Linked DNA regions of Homo sapiens: all the other regions are linked to region 2. The links are contacts of gene promoters, found by promoter capture Hi-C in blood cells and fetal thymus (Javierre and others, 2016). All regions are on one chromosome and are shown on one strand. The core of a region is centred on a gene start or on the middle of the fragment in contact, and the rest is flanking DNA. Distances in the headings are between cores, read along the strand shown.

Region 1 (4,327 bases), core at 452-2,951, 640 kb after region 2:
CTAGTAACATCATCTGGTTTTGTTAGTTCCCCACCCCCAACATATATAATGGTTTTTAGTTTTATAGCAAGCTAGTAACATTATCTTACGGGATCTGAGATTGACCCTGGACTAGAAACTAATTCTAGTAGTGACTTTGGCACTTGGTCTTGACACTTAAACCTCTGGGCTTTATCTGTAAAAACAGGGTTACTAAACTCTGATTACTTCACAAAGTTGCTCTGATGATCAAACAAATCAAGCAGTACGAAGGTGTTTAAAGAACTATAAAGTGGCATATTAATGTGCAAAGTACTATTATTTCCATTTTTATGTGCAAAGCTCCTTAAGTATAGAGAGAATGGTCTGATCTCGTCTGAGGCCAAAACAGTGCCCCAGCATGGGCTAGTGGGCTTCCTGCACCAGAATGGTAAGAGCATTAACAATGATGATTTATTTATCCTGTGCCAAGTCTGTTAGGCTGTTTGCATGTATCATATCTGATCTAAGTATCCTAACCTCAATCCCATGAGGTGCATAATAATACAAATGAGTTTACAGAGCGGAAATTGAAGTAAGAAAGTTAAGCGATTTGCTTAACATCTTCCGTTGCGGATCTGTTAAGCGATTTGCTTAACATCTTCCGTTGCGGATCTGTTAAGCGATTTGCTTAACAACTTCCGTTGCGGATCTGTCAGACTTACAGTTTCTCACACATCGCGCCCCAGGGATATACTTACTAGGCCTATTGTATTTTGCCCAAGACTGGGTCACACTGCCATGTACTCGACTTTCCTACTCTTTTACGACCTGCAACACCACATCTTACCTGGGGATCTCACCCGCGGCTCTGATTCCGGCAGTCAGGCTGAAATGAAAAGGAAAAAACACGCGTGCACAACACGCACCAATTAGCAAGGCAGTTTTCAAGTCGGCGGAGAATCCGGCCAATCCCCGGCAGGCAGAGGCAAAGGGCCGCCTCTGAGTCTGGCAACGCGCGGGCAAAGCCACAAATACCGAGTTCAAATCTCAACGGCTGCAGGACGGCCAATCGCGACGCCCGCCGGAGCGGCCGGCCAATCACAGCGCCGCCCGGGGGCGGGCCAAGGCTCCGGCTCCGGCCCCCGCTCCCACCCCCGGCCCGCCTGCGAATCCCTCCTTGGCCGCAAGGTCCCCCTTTGCCCAGTCGGCGGGGAGGAGGCCGTATTTCTGCTGGCCAGAGACGTCGCGTCCCTGGCTGGGCATTCAGTCACCCCCAGGAAAGGAGGCAAGTCCACGCTGGGAGTTAGAAGGCATCGCCTCTAATCCAGGTTTCGCCATCTCCTCTGCTAAGTGACGTCCAGCAAGTCACTTCACTTTCAGGACCTCAAATCTCCTCCCCAGTAGTAAAATAGGGGTAATAAAAACAGCTACAGCGGAAGACTGTTGTGAGGCACAGAGAAAGGGCTTGGTCATTGGAAGCGGGTTCCAGGTTCTCAACCTTCATTTCCTTCACGGTTGAAGGACGCCAAAGAAAGCGGAAAGGGTGAATTTTCTTGAAATCTCAGTTTTGGGGAATCTTAGCGACGAGTCGCGGACCTCAGCTTGTCCGGCGCTCCAAAACTTCCGGCAGGCGGACCGGAAGCACTGAGGCGGGAAGGGTGGTAGAGGCCCCTCCTGCCGGAACCCGGGGGGCGGGGCTCGTGGCTGTTGCGGATGGGGCGTAGGTGGGCGGTGCGCCCACAGCTGCCTGGGTAAGGCCCAAGATGGCTGTCTTCGCCTTAGTACTCGTGTGAAGTTGGCGGGGACGGTTCCTGTCATCTTCTTGGGCTTATTTGGTGTGCTGTTGAAGGGGGGAGACTAGAGAAATGGCAGGGAACCTCTTATCCGGGGCAGGTAGGCGCCTGTGGGACTGGGTGCCTCTGGCGTGCAGAAGCTTCTCTCTTGGTAAGTGGCTGATGTAGGCACCCCGATAACTGCTTCGTAGTATAATAGGCGGCTCAGATTAATTCCCTCCCTTCCCCATCCCCAGGTGTGCCTAGATTGATCGGTATAAGGCTCACTCTCCCGCCCCCCAAAGTGGTTGATCGTTGGAACGAGAAAAGGGCCATGTTCGGAGTGTATGACAACATCGGGATCCTGGGTAAGACTTGACCTTCGACGTGGTACACAATTTCAGAATGGCAATTAGGCTGTAACGACTATCTTTTCCTCCTGTGTAGAGAGTGGTACTGTGCTCAATAGTAAGAGCAAACACTTATGTAGCTGTTTACATTGTGTTTGGCACTGTTCTGAGTCCCCTCGTATAATTTTTACTTCATAAGTAAAAATAAACAGTTTTTCCAAAGTTAATAAATGGCAGCATCAGAATTTTAACCCCAAGCAGTCTGGCTCCAGAGTCTGTGCTATTGTTCTGTACTGTAATGTTCCTTGTCTATAGGTGCTGCTCAGCAAGATGCAACCGTGGGTTGAAAGCTTAGCTGGTGTAGGATGAGTTCTCTTGTCTTGGATCTAATGTGTTCTCTCACATTACACAGGAAACTTTGAAAAGCACCCCAAAGAACTGATCAGGGGGCCCATATGGCTTCGAGGTTGGAAAGGGAATGAATTGCAACGTTGTATCCGAAAGAGGAAAATGGTTGGAAGTAGAATGTTCGCTGATGACCTGCACAACCTTAATAAACGCATCCGCTATCTCTACAAACACTTTAACCGACATGGGAAGTTTCGATAGAAGAGAAAGCTGAGAACTTCGGAAAAGGCTCATCTGTCACCCTGGAGAAGGGAAACTGTACTTTTCCCTGTGAGGAAACGGCTTTGTATTTTCTCTGTAATAAAATGGGGCTTCTTTGGAATTTGATAGCCACATACTTTTGTTTTCCTCTAGATGCTGCCTCTACTCATGTAGACTATGAAGTCTTGACTCATCCTAGATCTTAGGATCTTAGGTTTGGGCTTCACACCACTTGCCTTTTACAGTCTAGCTATACCTAATTCCTTTAAAAAGAAAAGTTGGTGAGAATGTTATTGGCGCTTTTTGACATAATGCTGTTATGTTAATAGTGTTTCTAAAGAGCCTTCCACACTGAAATGAAATATAAGAGAAAAATGGAGTCATACTTCTGTACTACTCTCATAAAATATTTATTAGGCATATTCTCTGAGTAGGAACTATAGGAAAAACAAAAAAGTGTGAGGTGTCCTTTCCATTTAAATATGAAACATTAAGTACCATATGAATGGTAGAGATGGCGGATACTAAGCCTGACTGGTCATCAGTTTTCTGGGTGTTTTAACATTTCAAAAGCCTAGTCCTAACCCCTAAAGATTGATCAGTAGAGCTGAGTTGAGTCTAGGGCATCTATGTGTTTTGTTCTTTTTTAATAATAATTTTTAAGAATTACAGCTGGGCAGAATGGTGCCCACATGTAATCCCAGCATTTTGGGAGGCTGAGGTGGGAGGATTGCTTGGAGACAGGAATTTGAGACTGGTCTGGGCGACATGGTGAAACTCCGTCTCTACTAAAAATAAAGTGGCTGGGTGCGGTGGCTCCTGCCTGTAATCCCAGCACCTTGGGAGGCGGAGGGGGGCGGACCACGAGCTCAGGAGATCGAGACTATCCTGGCTAACACAGCCCTGTCTCTACTGAAAATACAAAAACAAACAAACAAAAAAATTAGCCAGGAGTGGTGGCGGACACCTGTAGTCCCAGCTACTCAGGTGTCTGAGGCAGGAGAATCACTTGAACCTGGGAGGTGGAGCTTGCAGTGAGCCGAGATCGTGCCACTGCACTCCAGCCTGAGCAACAGAGCAAGACTCTGTCTCAAAAAAAAAAAAAAAACAACTTAGCTGGGCATGGTTCTGCATGCCTGTAGTTCCAGCTACTCATGGTTCTGCGTGCCTGCAGTCCCAGCTACACAAGAGGCTGAGGTGGGAAGATCACCTGAGCCCAGGAGTTTGAGGCTGCAGTGAGCTGAGATCATGCCACTGCATTCCAGCCTGAGCAACTGGGGTGAGACTGTCTCAAAAAAAAAAAAAAAAAAAAAGTGAAGTTAGGGCTGGGTGCAGTGGCTCACACCTGTAAGCCCAACACTTTGGGAGGCCAAGGCATGAGGATTGCTTGAAGCCAGGAGTTCAAGACCAGCCTGGGCAACATAGCAAGACCCCATCTCTATATTTTAAAAAACAAAAACTCCATAAAAGTGAAGTTAGATTAATAAATACTTGTTGCGGGGCATGGTGGTTGGAGCACACTTATAATCCCAGCTACTCTGCAGGCTGAGGTGGGAGGATCCTTTGAAACCAGGAGTTGGAGGCCAGCCTTAGGAACATAGCAAGACCCCATCTTCAATAAAAATAAAAAGCACT
Region 2 (4,644 bases), core at 1,059-3,558:
CAAAAAACATACGTGCTCCGAATTGCTGAACTGCAGCAAATACTTTCTCCCCAGGATGGGATGGAGGCGAAGCAGATGGATCTGCCACACACCCTTAGCATGCGCCAGTGAAAGGGAGAGCCGCGGGGAGAGGCCTATCACCGGCTCGGGGGCAGTCCTTCCCAGACCCGAGGTAGCCACCAGCGTGTAGAAATTAGGGGAAGGGGAGAATAGAGACCCCAGGACGGGAATGGAGACCAAATGGGAGCAAGATGACCAGCAAGAGAAACGCATGGGTAGAGATGGACCAGAAAGGAAGATGTAGCTGGGGGAAGAGAAAGAGAGGAGACGGAGCAGGTCTGAGAACGGATGGGAAGGAGGGTGATCAGAAGAGGGCCAGACACCTGTCAGGTGCCAGGGAGCCTCGACACCTCCTTCCCACCCCCACCCCGCACGGCGCTGCCCGACGCCCCTCTTTCGGTACCCCCACCCCCACCTCACTCACCTTTGTTACAGGAGCAGGACGCGAGCAGAGAGGCCAGCAGAAGGGGCAGCAGCAGGAGGGTCATGGTGCGGCGTGGGGCAGGGCAGGGCCAGGCGTTTGCCTCCCCTGGGAGCCTCCAGCCTGCGGATTCCACCTTGCGGGAGGGATACAGGGGGTCTCCAAGGAGCGGGGTACAGCAGGGCAGGGACGGAAAGGAGCCTGCCGCCCACACTAGTCCATAAAGCGGGCCTGGGCAGATCCCAATCTGGGTAGCTGAGGCGGTGGACTTGCAGCGGCTTCCCGTTTCCCCCAGCCCAGCGTCCTCACTCTCTCACTCCCACCCCAACCCCGCTACTGCAGGATGACGTCAGCACAGCCGGGCAACGATTGATGGGGCCGCCGGCCAATCAGGTGACTGGGAGGGGGGGGGACCAGGTGCTGCAGCGGGGGAGGGAGCCAATGAGACTGGGGCGTCGGGGCTGGAGAGTTTCAAGGCTCCTTCCCCTGGCTGCAATTTTGGGGGAGCCGAGGAACTGCGGGGGCTGGGGAGGAAGCTGGAGAGCCACGGAGGGGGTGGGAAAGAAGAGGGACGTGGGGAGAAAGAAGCCAGAAGCCAGGGGGTGGGGAAGAGAGACGTCAGCGGGACCTGAGGGCGGCCAGGAGGGGTGGCACCGCGTCACCCCGCCCCCCAACTCTGCCATAACCTGTTTCCACAGCCCCTTCCATCCACAGATCCGTGCTGCGTGCCCTCTGGGAAGGGTGAAGTAAAACCCTCAGTCTGAGCCTGAGAAATCCTGGCATTTGTAGCCCAGGGCTGCGAGGAAGCCACAGGGCGGTCCGCAGGGCGGTATCGAGGCTCTGGGACCCAAGGAGGGGCAGGACGTCGTGCACCCCTCGCGCACGCACCTGTCGGGACCGGCCGCCTCCTCCTGCCTACCTGTCCTGCCTCCTTCGCCCCGAATTTCACCTTAAACCATGATGAACCAAGCCCAGTGGATTCTGAAGCCCGGGACGATGGCAGGTTCGAGAGAGAATTGGGCAGCTGGGGGCGGGGCACAATATTATTTAGGCGCCTCCACCCCACCTTCACAGAAATACATCTGGAAAGCATGGGCTGTCCTAGGGCTGGGGACTGGGGGTTACGGTCTCATCGATGACTCAGAGGGAGAGAAAACCCCCTGGGTCCCAAGCCAAAAAGAATAAAATTCTCCAGAATAGCCAACAAACTCCTCTCAGGCTGTCTGTTCCGGACTTTGAACTCAGCACCCCTCGGGCTCCACCTCCCTCCTAATGGCTCTTTAGGACCAAGAGTCTGGAATGCCACTTTGGGGTCCCAGTTGAGCACACTACCTGAGGGAGCTCTGAGAGCCAGGCCTACAGGGTGCTCTTCATGGTGGCAGCTGGCCATCCTCACCCCCTCCCCTCACATCTTCCAACATCACTCAGTCCCAGGATCTCAGGATATTGTTGGAACTCATCTCCACCTCACACAGCCAGACCAGCCTCAGGTGTCTCCCAGGAAAGACTGCCCCTCAGGCCCTGGGACGGTTCCCAAGCCTGCCAGAAATGAGGTGGAGGCCAACACTGACCTTTGGATGGCTGAGTTTTGGATGACTGACAGCCCCAGATCCTGCTCCAGGTTCCTTCCTCAGGAAGGATCCTGCTCCAGGTTCCTTCCTCAGGAAAAGCCAAGGTCAGGCGCAACTTTGCCAAATCCCTGCCCCTCCTTCAGGCTGGAGACACCACCCCCAAACTCACCATGCGGGGAGGGAAGAAGTCTGGTAGGGACTCTTATTGCAACAGGGCCCCAGCCTTATAAAAAGCCCTGGTAACCCGGCCATTACACATCCTGTCTCTGTGTGTGGAGCTGGCTGGAATCTCTCAGCCTCACCTGCCAGACAACACCCCCTCCTTCCTCACCCTGTCTCCTGCATTCTCCTGAAACCTTCATCCACACAATGCCTCCCAACCTCACTGGCTACTACCGCTTTGTCTCGCAGAAGAACATGGAGGACTACCTGCAAGCCCTAAGTAATGGCCTCGCCCTCCCAGACCCCTGTCACTCCCTTTCTCCCCTCTTCCTTCCTGCTTCTTGGTCCCATGGAGAAGAGGGAATGCCCGGGGTTGGACACTGTGGAAAGGCTCAGGCGGCTGGCACCAGACCTGGGATCCATTTCTAACCAGGCATTGGTAGGAGGGGGTGAATCCACAGTCCCAGACCCAAAGAAGGGAAACTCACAGCCCTGAGGGGCTGCTGCAGGCAGAGGAGCTCCTGGCTGGCTAGCAGCACCCCTACTAACAGGCAGCCCCCACAGACATCAGCTTGGCTGTGCGGAAGATCGCGCTGCTGCTGAAGCCGGACAAGGAGATCGAACACCAGGGCAACCACATGACGGTGAGGACGCTCAGCACCTTCCGAAACTACACTGTGCAGTTTGATGTGGGAGTGGAGTTTGAGGAGGACCTCAGGAGCGTGGACGGACGAAAATGCCAGGTACATTTCCCCTGGCTGGGCGGTGGCCGGAAGGAGGCATCACAGGAGACTCCTAACAACATGGGGCAAAACAAAGTGACCTTCCCCAGCCAGAGCAGCGGGGAGGAGGGGAATGGTCACCACAGCAGGGAATGCAGTCCCCAGGATACCAGTCTCCAGAACTAACAGGTCCTGGTGCTCCCTGTCTCTCTCCCACTTCTTCCCTGCCCCCTCTTATCACCAGCCCAAAGGGCAAAGAACAGGCCAACCCAGACCGAAGAGCAAACATTTGCCCACCCTCCAGCCTGTGACACTGTTGGTCACCCAGAGTCCCTTTTACTTTAGCATCAATAACTTCACTCTCCTGCATTTCTTTCTACTTCTTACATATTCCTTCTTAGCCTCCTTTGCAGATCCTAGTCCTCCTATTAATCCTTTAAACTGGAGTTTTCTCCGCAGAGTTTTGTTCTTAATGTCTTCTCCCTTTTGTCTGCCCACTATCCATAGGCTAAATCATCTACACCCATGCCTTCTGCTTCCATCTATAGGCTGCCCTTGGCATGAATTCTCCAGCCAGAGCCATCTCCTGAGCTCCAGGGCAATGTTTTCAACTGCCTACAAAATACAGTTGGCCCTCCATATTCATGGGTTCTGCATCCACAGCTTCAGCAAACTGCAAATGGAAAAATATTTGGGAAAAATAAAAATAAAAAATAACAATACAAAATGATACAAATAAAAAACAATACAGTATAGCAACTATTTACAGAGCATGTACATTGCATTAGGTATTATAAGTAATCTAGAGATGATTTAAAGCATATGGGAAAAGGCTGGGCGTGGTGGCTCACACCCATAATCCCAAGACTTTGGGAGGCTGAGGCAGGCAGATCACTTGAGGCCAGGAGTTCAAGACCAGCCTGGCCAACATGGTGAAACCTCATCTCTACTAAAAATACATAAATTAGGCCAGGTGCAGTGGCTCACACCTGTAATCCCAGTACTTTGGGAGGCCAAGGCGGGCGGATCACCTGAGGTCAAGAGTTCGAGACCAGCCTGACCAACATGGAGAAACCCCATCTCTACTAAAAATACAAAAAATTAGGCAGGCATGGTGGCGCATGCCTGTAATCCCAGCTACTCAGGAGGCTGAGGCAGAAGAATCACTTGAACCTGGGAGGCAGAGGTTGCAGTGAGCCAAGATCGCACCACTGCACTCCAGCCTGGGCAACAAGAGCGAAATTCTATCTCAAAAAAAAAAAAAAAAAAAAATACAAAAGTACAAAAATTAGCCGGGCATGGTGGCGCATGCCTGTAATCCCAGCTACTTGGGAGGCTGAGGCAGGAGAATTACTTGAACCCGGGAGCCAGAGGTTGCAGTGAGCCAAGATCATGCCATTGCATTCTAGTCTGGGTGACAGAGCAAGACTCTGTATCAAAATGATAATAATAAAGTACACAGGGGGATGTATGTAGTTTCTCTACAGATACTAAGCCATTTTATTCAGCAGATTTAGTGAGGTGGGGGTCCTGGAACCAATTTCCATTTGAATGCCAAGGTCAAATTCAAATTCACTGTCTTCCTATCCAAACCTACCCCACTTTTATATCTACTCTCTCCACTAATGGCAATAACCAGCCAGGCCAGAGACCTGGGAGTCATGGTCAATATCTCTTGTTTCCTTACCTCTAGGCTCCCAGCACACAC
Region 3 (4,897 bases), core at 113-2,612, 520 kb before region 2:
CAATCTTGTTGGCAATTTGAGGCGTCAACACTTGAGAAAATCTGGTTAGAGTCCATTGAGGAATAGAAAAGATAAGGATTGGAACATAGCACCTCTAGGTGTAAAATAGAAAAGTTAGAATATAGCTAGGCATGGTGGGGCACACCTGTGGTCTCAGCTACTCAGGAGGCTGAGGCAGGAGAGTAGCTTGAGTCCAGGAAGGGGAGATCAGGCTGGCCAGCTTAGAGAGACCATGTCTTAAAAAAAAAAAAAAAAAAAAAGGGTTAGAATATAATGAAGGAAAATTTAAAAGAGAAACAAAGACACGCTTACACCTGAATTCAAGACTAAAACATAATGGTATTAGAGAGTGGTCACCAAATAATGTGACTGGGGGAAGAAACCTGTGCACTATGTTTGTGAGAAAAAAAAATCTGATAATTCAAACAGACCTCTTCAGATAACTTTGAGACATATACTAGAAAAAGAAGTTTCCTGAGATGTTATGTCTCAGATCAGCCTGATAGAAGAGGGGAGCAGAGGCTGGGCGTGGTGGCTCACGCCTGTAATCCCAGCACTTTGGGAGGCTGAGGTGGGCGAATCACAAGGTCAGGAGTTTGAGACCAGCCTGGCCAACATGGTGAAACCCCGTCTCTACTAAAAATACAAAAAAATTAGCTGGACATGGTGGCGGGAGCCTGTAATCCCAGCTACTTGGGAAGTTGAGGCAGAAAAATCGCTTGAACCTGGGAGGTGGAGGTTGTGGTGAGCTGAGATTGCACCACTGCACTCCAGTCTGGGCAACAGTGTGAGACTCCATCTTAAAAAAATAAAATAAAATAAAATAAAATAAAAAAAGAAGAGGGGAGCAGGAAAAGATTTCTAAGATCTCTCTAAATGTGGCATGACAGTGTGGGCTGCTTTTTGTATTTCAGGAGAAGAATCGAACCCTGGGAGTTTGACGTCTTCTATGACCCCAGAGAACTTCGTAAAGAGGCCTGTCTGCTCTACGAAATCAAGTGGGGCATGAGCCGGAAGATCTGGCGAAGCTCAGGCAAAAACACCACCAATCACGTGGAAGTTAATTTTATAAAAAAATTTACGTCAGAAAGAGATTTTCACCCATCCATGAGCTGCTCCATCACCTGGTTCTTGTCCTGGAGTCCCTGCTGGGAATGCTCCCAGGCTATTAGAGAGTTTCTGAGTCGGCACCCTGGTGTGACTCTAGTGATCTACGTAGCTCGGCTTTTTTGGCACATGGATCAACAAAATCGGCAAGGTCTCAGGGACCTTGTTAACAGTGGAGTAACTATTCAGATTATGAGAGCATCAGGTAAAAACAGTAAACAAAGAAACTTCATTGTTTACAACAGACTGTGGTGATAGTAGCTGTTTTTAGGCCAGAAGATTGGTTAGCCCAGGCTGGAAGTCTCAGAAGTAAAAGTCCAAAATAATGTCATAAAGGACTAGGTCTGAAATTCATGACAAGGAAAGTTACAAAAATACAACTCCTGGCTACGCATGGTGGCTCATGCCTATAATCCCAGAACTTTGGGAGGCCAAGGCAGGAGGATCACTTGAAGCCAGGGGTTCAAGATCAGCCTGGGCAACATAGTGAGACCCCATCTCTAAAAAAAATTTAAAAATCCGGCCAGGTGCGGTGGCTCACGCCTGTAATCCCAGCACTTTGGGAGGCCGAGGTGGGCGGATCATGAGATCAGGAGATGGAGACCATCCTGGCTAACACGGTGAAACCCCGTCTCTACTAAAAAATACAAAAAAATTAGCCAGGCGTGGTGGCGGGCGCCTGTAGTCCCAGCTACTCGGGAGGCTGAGGCAGGAGAATGGCGTGAACCCGGGAGGCGGAGCTTGCAGTGAGCCGAGATCGCGCCACTGCACTCCAGCCTGGGCGACAGAGCGAGACTCCGTCTCAAGATAAAATAAAATAAAATAAAATAAAAAATAAAATAAAAAAATCAGACAGGCATGGCAGCATACACCTTTAAAGGCTGAGGTAGGAAGATCTCCTGAGCCCAGAAGTTCAAGGCTGCAGTGAGCTATGATTGGACCACTGCACACTGGCCTAGGTGACAGAGCGAAACCCTGTATCAAAAAACAAAAACAAAAACAAACAACAACTCTTTTTTTTTTTTTTTTTTGAGACGGAGTCTTGCTCTTTCGCCCAGGCTGGAGTGCAGTGGTGCAATCTCGACTCACTGCAAGCTCCACCTGGGGTTCACGCCATTCTCCTGCCTCAGCCTCCCCAGTAGCTGGGACTACAGGCGCCCACCACCACGCCCGGCTAATTTTTTGTATTTTTAGTAGAGACGGGGTTTCACTGTGTTAGGCAGGATGGTCTCGATCTCCTGACCTGTGATCCACCCCCCTCGGCCTCCCAAAGTGCTGGGATTACAGGCGTGAGCCACCGCACCCAGCCAACAACTCTTTTCTCTAGTCTTGCCTCTCAGCCATCTTTAAATGAACTGCTTTATTCTTTTTAGGGGGTCTAATGTCCAGCAGCAACTAGACTAGAGACTACAGGCTTTCTATACGGGAAGCTAGGTTGGGGATCTTCTTAAGTAATTTACCATTGTGCTTGTTGAATGAGCCAAGATTTGTGTTTCCTTAGAGTATTATCACTGCTGGAGGAATTTTGTCAACTACCCACCTGGGGATGAAGCTCACTGGCCACAATACCCACCTCTGTGGATGATGTTGTACGCACTGGAGCTGCACTGCATAATTCTAGTAAGTCACTTTAGGGACACAAATGTTGATGCAAAAAGAAGCATCCTTCTTCAAAGGTCTTTCCTGAGAAAATTTGACTCATATCTTCTTTTTGACATTTATATTGAGATTTAGTTATTTAACTAGCTAGCTCCTCTTAAGAAAATCTCAGAGCCAGGTATGGTGGTGCACACTTGTAGTCCCAGCTACGCAGGAAGCTTGAGTCTAGGCGTTGCAAGCTGCAGTGAGCTATGATCACGCCAATATGCTCCAGCCTGCGTGGTATAACAAGATCCTGTTTCTAAAACACAGCTGGGTACAGTGGCTCATGCCTGTAATCCAAGCACTTTGGAAGGCCAAGATGGGAGGATTGCTTGAGACCAGGAGTCTGAGACCAGCCTGGCCAACATAATGAGACCCCCTCTCTATAAAAAAGAAAATTATGTATCAAACAAAGTAAACAAACAAGCAAACAAACAACATCTAAGCCTAAGAACAAGAAGTGTGTTTGTGGGAGGTAAGTGGAGAAGGGAATTTGGGTAAACCGATCTAAGATATGGGTGGTCCCCATATTAATTACATTTTATCATTTTTATTCTTATTTTATTATCATTATCTTTTAAGCCACAGGGTCTCGCTGTGTTGCCTAGGCTGGGGTGTAGCGGCTATTCACAGGCACCATCACAGCAACCCACAGCCTCAAACTCCGAATTCCTAGCCTCAAGCAATCCTCTGACCTCAGCCTTCTGGGTAGCTAGAACTACAGGCGTGTGTCATCATGTCTGGCTTTATCATTATTATTGTTCTTGTTACTACAACACATATTGGCTCTACTGTATTTCAGATATTCTCCTTTCTCTTATTAGTGTGTGTAATCTTATTGAAGAGAATGTACGTGTTCCATTGGATTCTCTTGAAAGTGGTTCAGGCTGGGTGCAGTGGCTCATGCTTGTAATCCTAGCACTTTGGGAGGCAGAGGGGAGTGGATGGCTTGAGCCCAGAAGTTGGAGACCAGCCTGGGCAACATGGCGAAACCACATCTCAACAAAAACACAAAAAAATTAGCTGGGTGTGGTGGTGCGTGCCTGTAGTCCCAGCTACTTGGGAGGCTGAGGTGGGAGAATTGTTTGAGCCTAGGAGGTTGAGGCTGCAGTGAGCTGTGATTGCACCACTGCGCTCCAGCCTGGGTGAATGCAGTGAGTCCAGAACCAGACCCTGTCTGGGAAAAAAAAAAAAGAAGAAATAGTTAAATCGTCTTCCAACTGACATTTTTAAATGTTTGTGGTGATAATATTATTAATTAAAATATTCATCCTAAGGATTAAATATAATCCTTTTTTATTCCAGAGTCTTCCACCCTGTTTAAAGATTTCAAGAAGATGGCAAAATCATCTTACATTTTTCAGACTTCATCTTCAAAACTGCCATTACCAAACGATTCCGCCACACATCCTTTTAGCTACAGGGCTGATACATCCTTCTGTGGCTTGGAGATGAATAGGATGATTCCGTGTGTGTACTGATTCAAGAACAAGCAATGATGACCCACTAAAGAGTGAATGCCATTTAGAATCTAGAAATGTTCACAAGGTACCCCAAAACTCTGTAGCTTAAACCAACAATAAATATGTATTACCTCTGGCAGTTTCTGTGGGTAAGGAATTTAGAAGCAGCTTATCTGTGTGTTCCTGTCTCAGGTCCCCCACGAGGTTGTAGTCAAGATGGCAGCCAGCGCTGCAATCATTTGAGGGCTTGACTGAGGCTGGAGAATGTGCTTCCCAGGTGGCAGGCTCAGATGGCTGGCAAGTTTGTGCTAGTGGCTGGTAGAAGGTTTCAGTTTCTTGCCACACAGGCCTCTCCACAGGGTTGCTTAAATAACCTCAGGACATGGCAGTTGGCTTCCTACAGATTAATTTACCTTTTGAAAAATTTCCTGTAGAGATGGAGTTTTGCTGTGTTGCCCAGGCTGGTCTCAAAGTCCTGGACTCAAGTGATCCACCAGCCTCGGCCTACCAAAGTGCTGGGATTACCGGTGTGAGCCACCATACCTGGCCCAGAGCGAGTGATCGAAGAGAGACCAAGGTGGAAATTTCCACGACTTTGATGACTTCATCTTGGAATCACACCCTATTTCTTTTGCAGTATTCTATTTGTTACACAGGCCAGCCATGACTCAGAGTAAGAGGGGACT

Evidence for each region. Contacts are between HindIII fragments. The CHiCAGO score rates a contact against its expected background, and 5 or more counts as called.
Region 1: the fragment with the promoter of MRPL51 here is called in contact with the fragment with the promoter of RBP5 in region 2 in 2 of 17 cell types (activated CD4 T cells and naive CD4 T cells); the score reaches 8.2 in activated CD4 T cells.
Region 3: a fragment that was not itself captured here is called in contact with the fragment with the promoter of RBP5 in region 2 in 2 of 17 cell types (M1 macrophages and M0 macrophages); the score reaches 6.6 in M1 macrophages.

What each region holds. Positions count from the first base shown.
Region 1 is chr12:6,490,636-6,494,962 of GRCh38, reverse strand. It overlaps MRPL51 (mitochondrial ribosomal protein L51), which reads left to right and starts at 1,701. Exons shown (of 3, transcript NM_016497.4): 1 at 1,701-1,905; 2 at 1,991-2,101; 3 at 2,496-3,077. The coding sequence starts at 1,827. The coding sequence ends at 2,692. NCAPD2 (non-SMC condensin I complex subunit D2) reads right to left here and starts at 861. Exons shown (of 32, transcript NM_014865.4): 1 at 809-861. RefSeq lists a silencer at 904-1,233 and enhancers at 669-1,266, 1,434-1,483. The HindIII fragment of the contact is 4,003 bases long and covers 1-1,896 here.
Region 2 is chr12:7,126,553-7,131,196 of GRCh38, reverse strand. It overlaps RBP5 (retinol binding protein 5), which reads left to right and starts at 2,308. Exons shown (of 4, transcript NM_031491.4): 1 at 2,308-2,494; 2 at 2,779-2,957. The coding sequence starts at 2,422. CLSTN3 (calsyntenin 3) reads right to left here and starts at 826. Exons shown (of 18, transcript NM_014718.4): 1 at 485-826. The coding sequence starts at 548. RefSeq lists an enhancer at 27-528 and a silencer at 970-1,069. The HindIII fragment of the contact is 14,463 bases long and covers 1-4,644 here.
Region 3 is chr12:7,648,853-7,653,749 of GRCh38, reverse strand. It overlaps APOBEC1 (apolipoprotein B mRNA editing enzyme catalytic subunit 1), which reads left to right. Exons shown (of 5, transcript NM_001644.5): 3 at 915-1,312; 4 at 2,609-2,727; 5 at 4,054-4,350. The coding sequence ends at 4,203. Among named protein-coding and RNA genes, the nearest start is that of APOBEC1, 15 kb to the left of the region's middle. The HindIII fragment of the contact is 3,129 bases long and covers 1-2,926 here.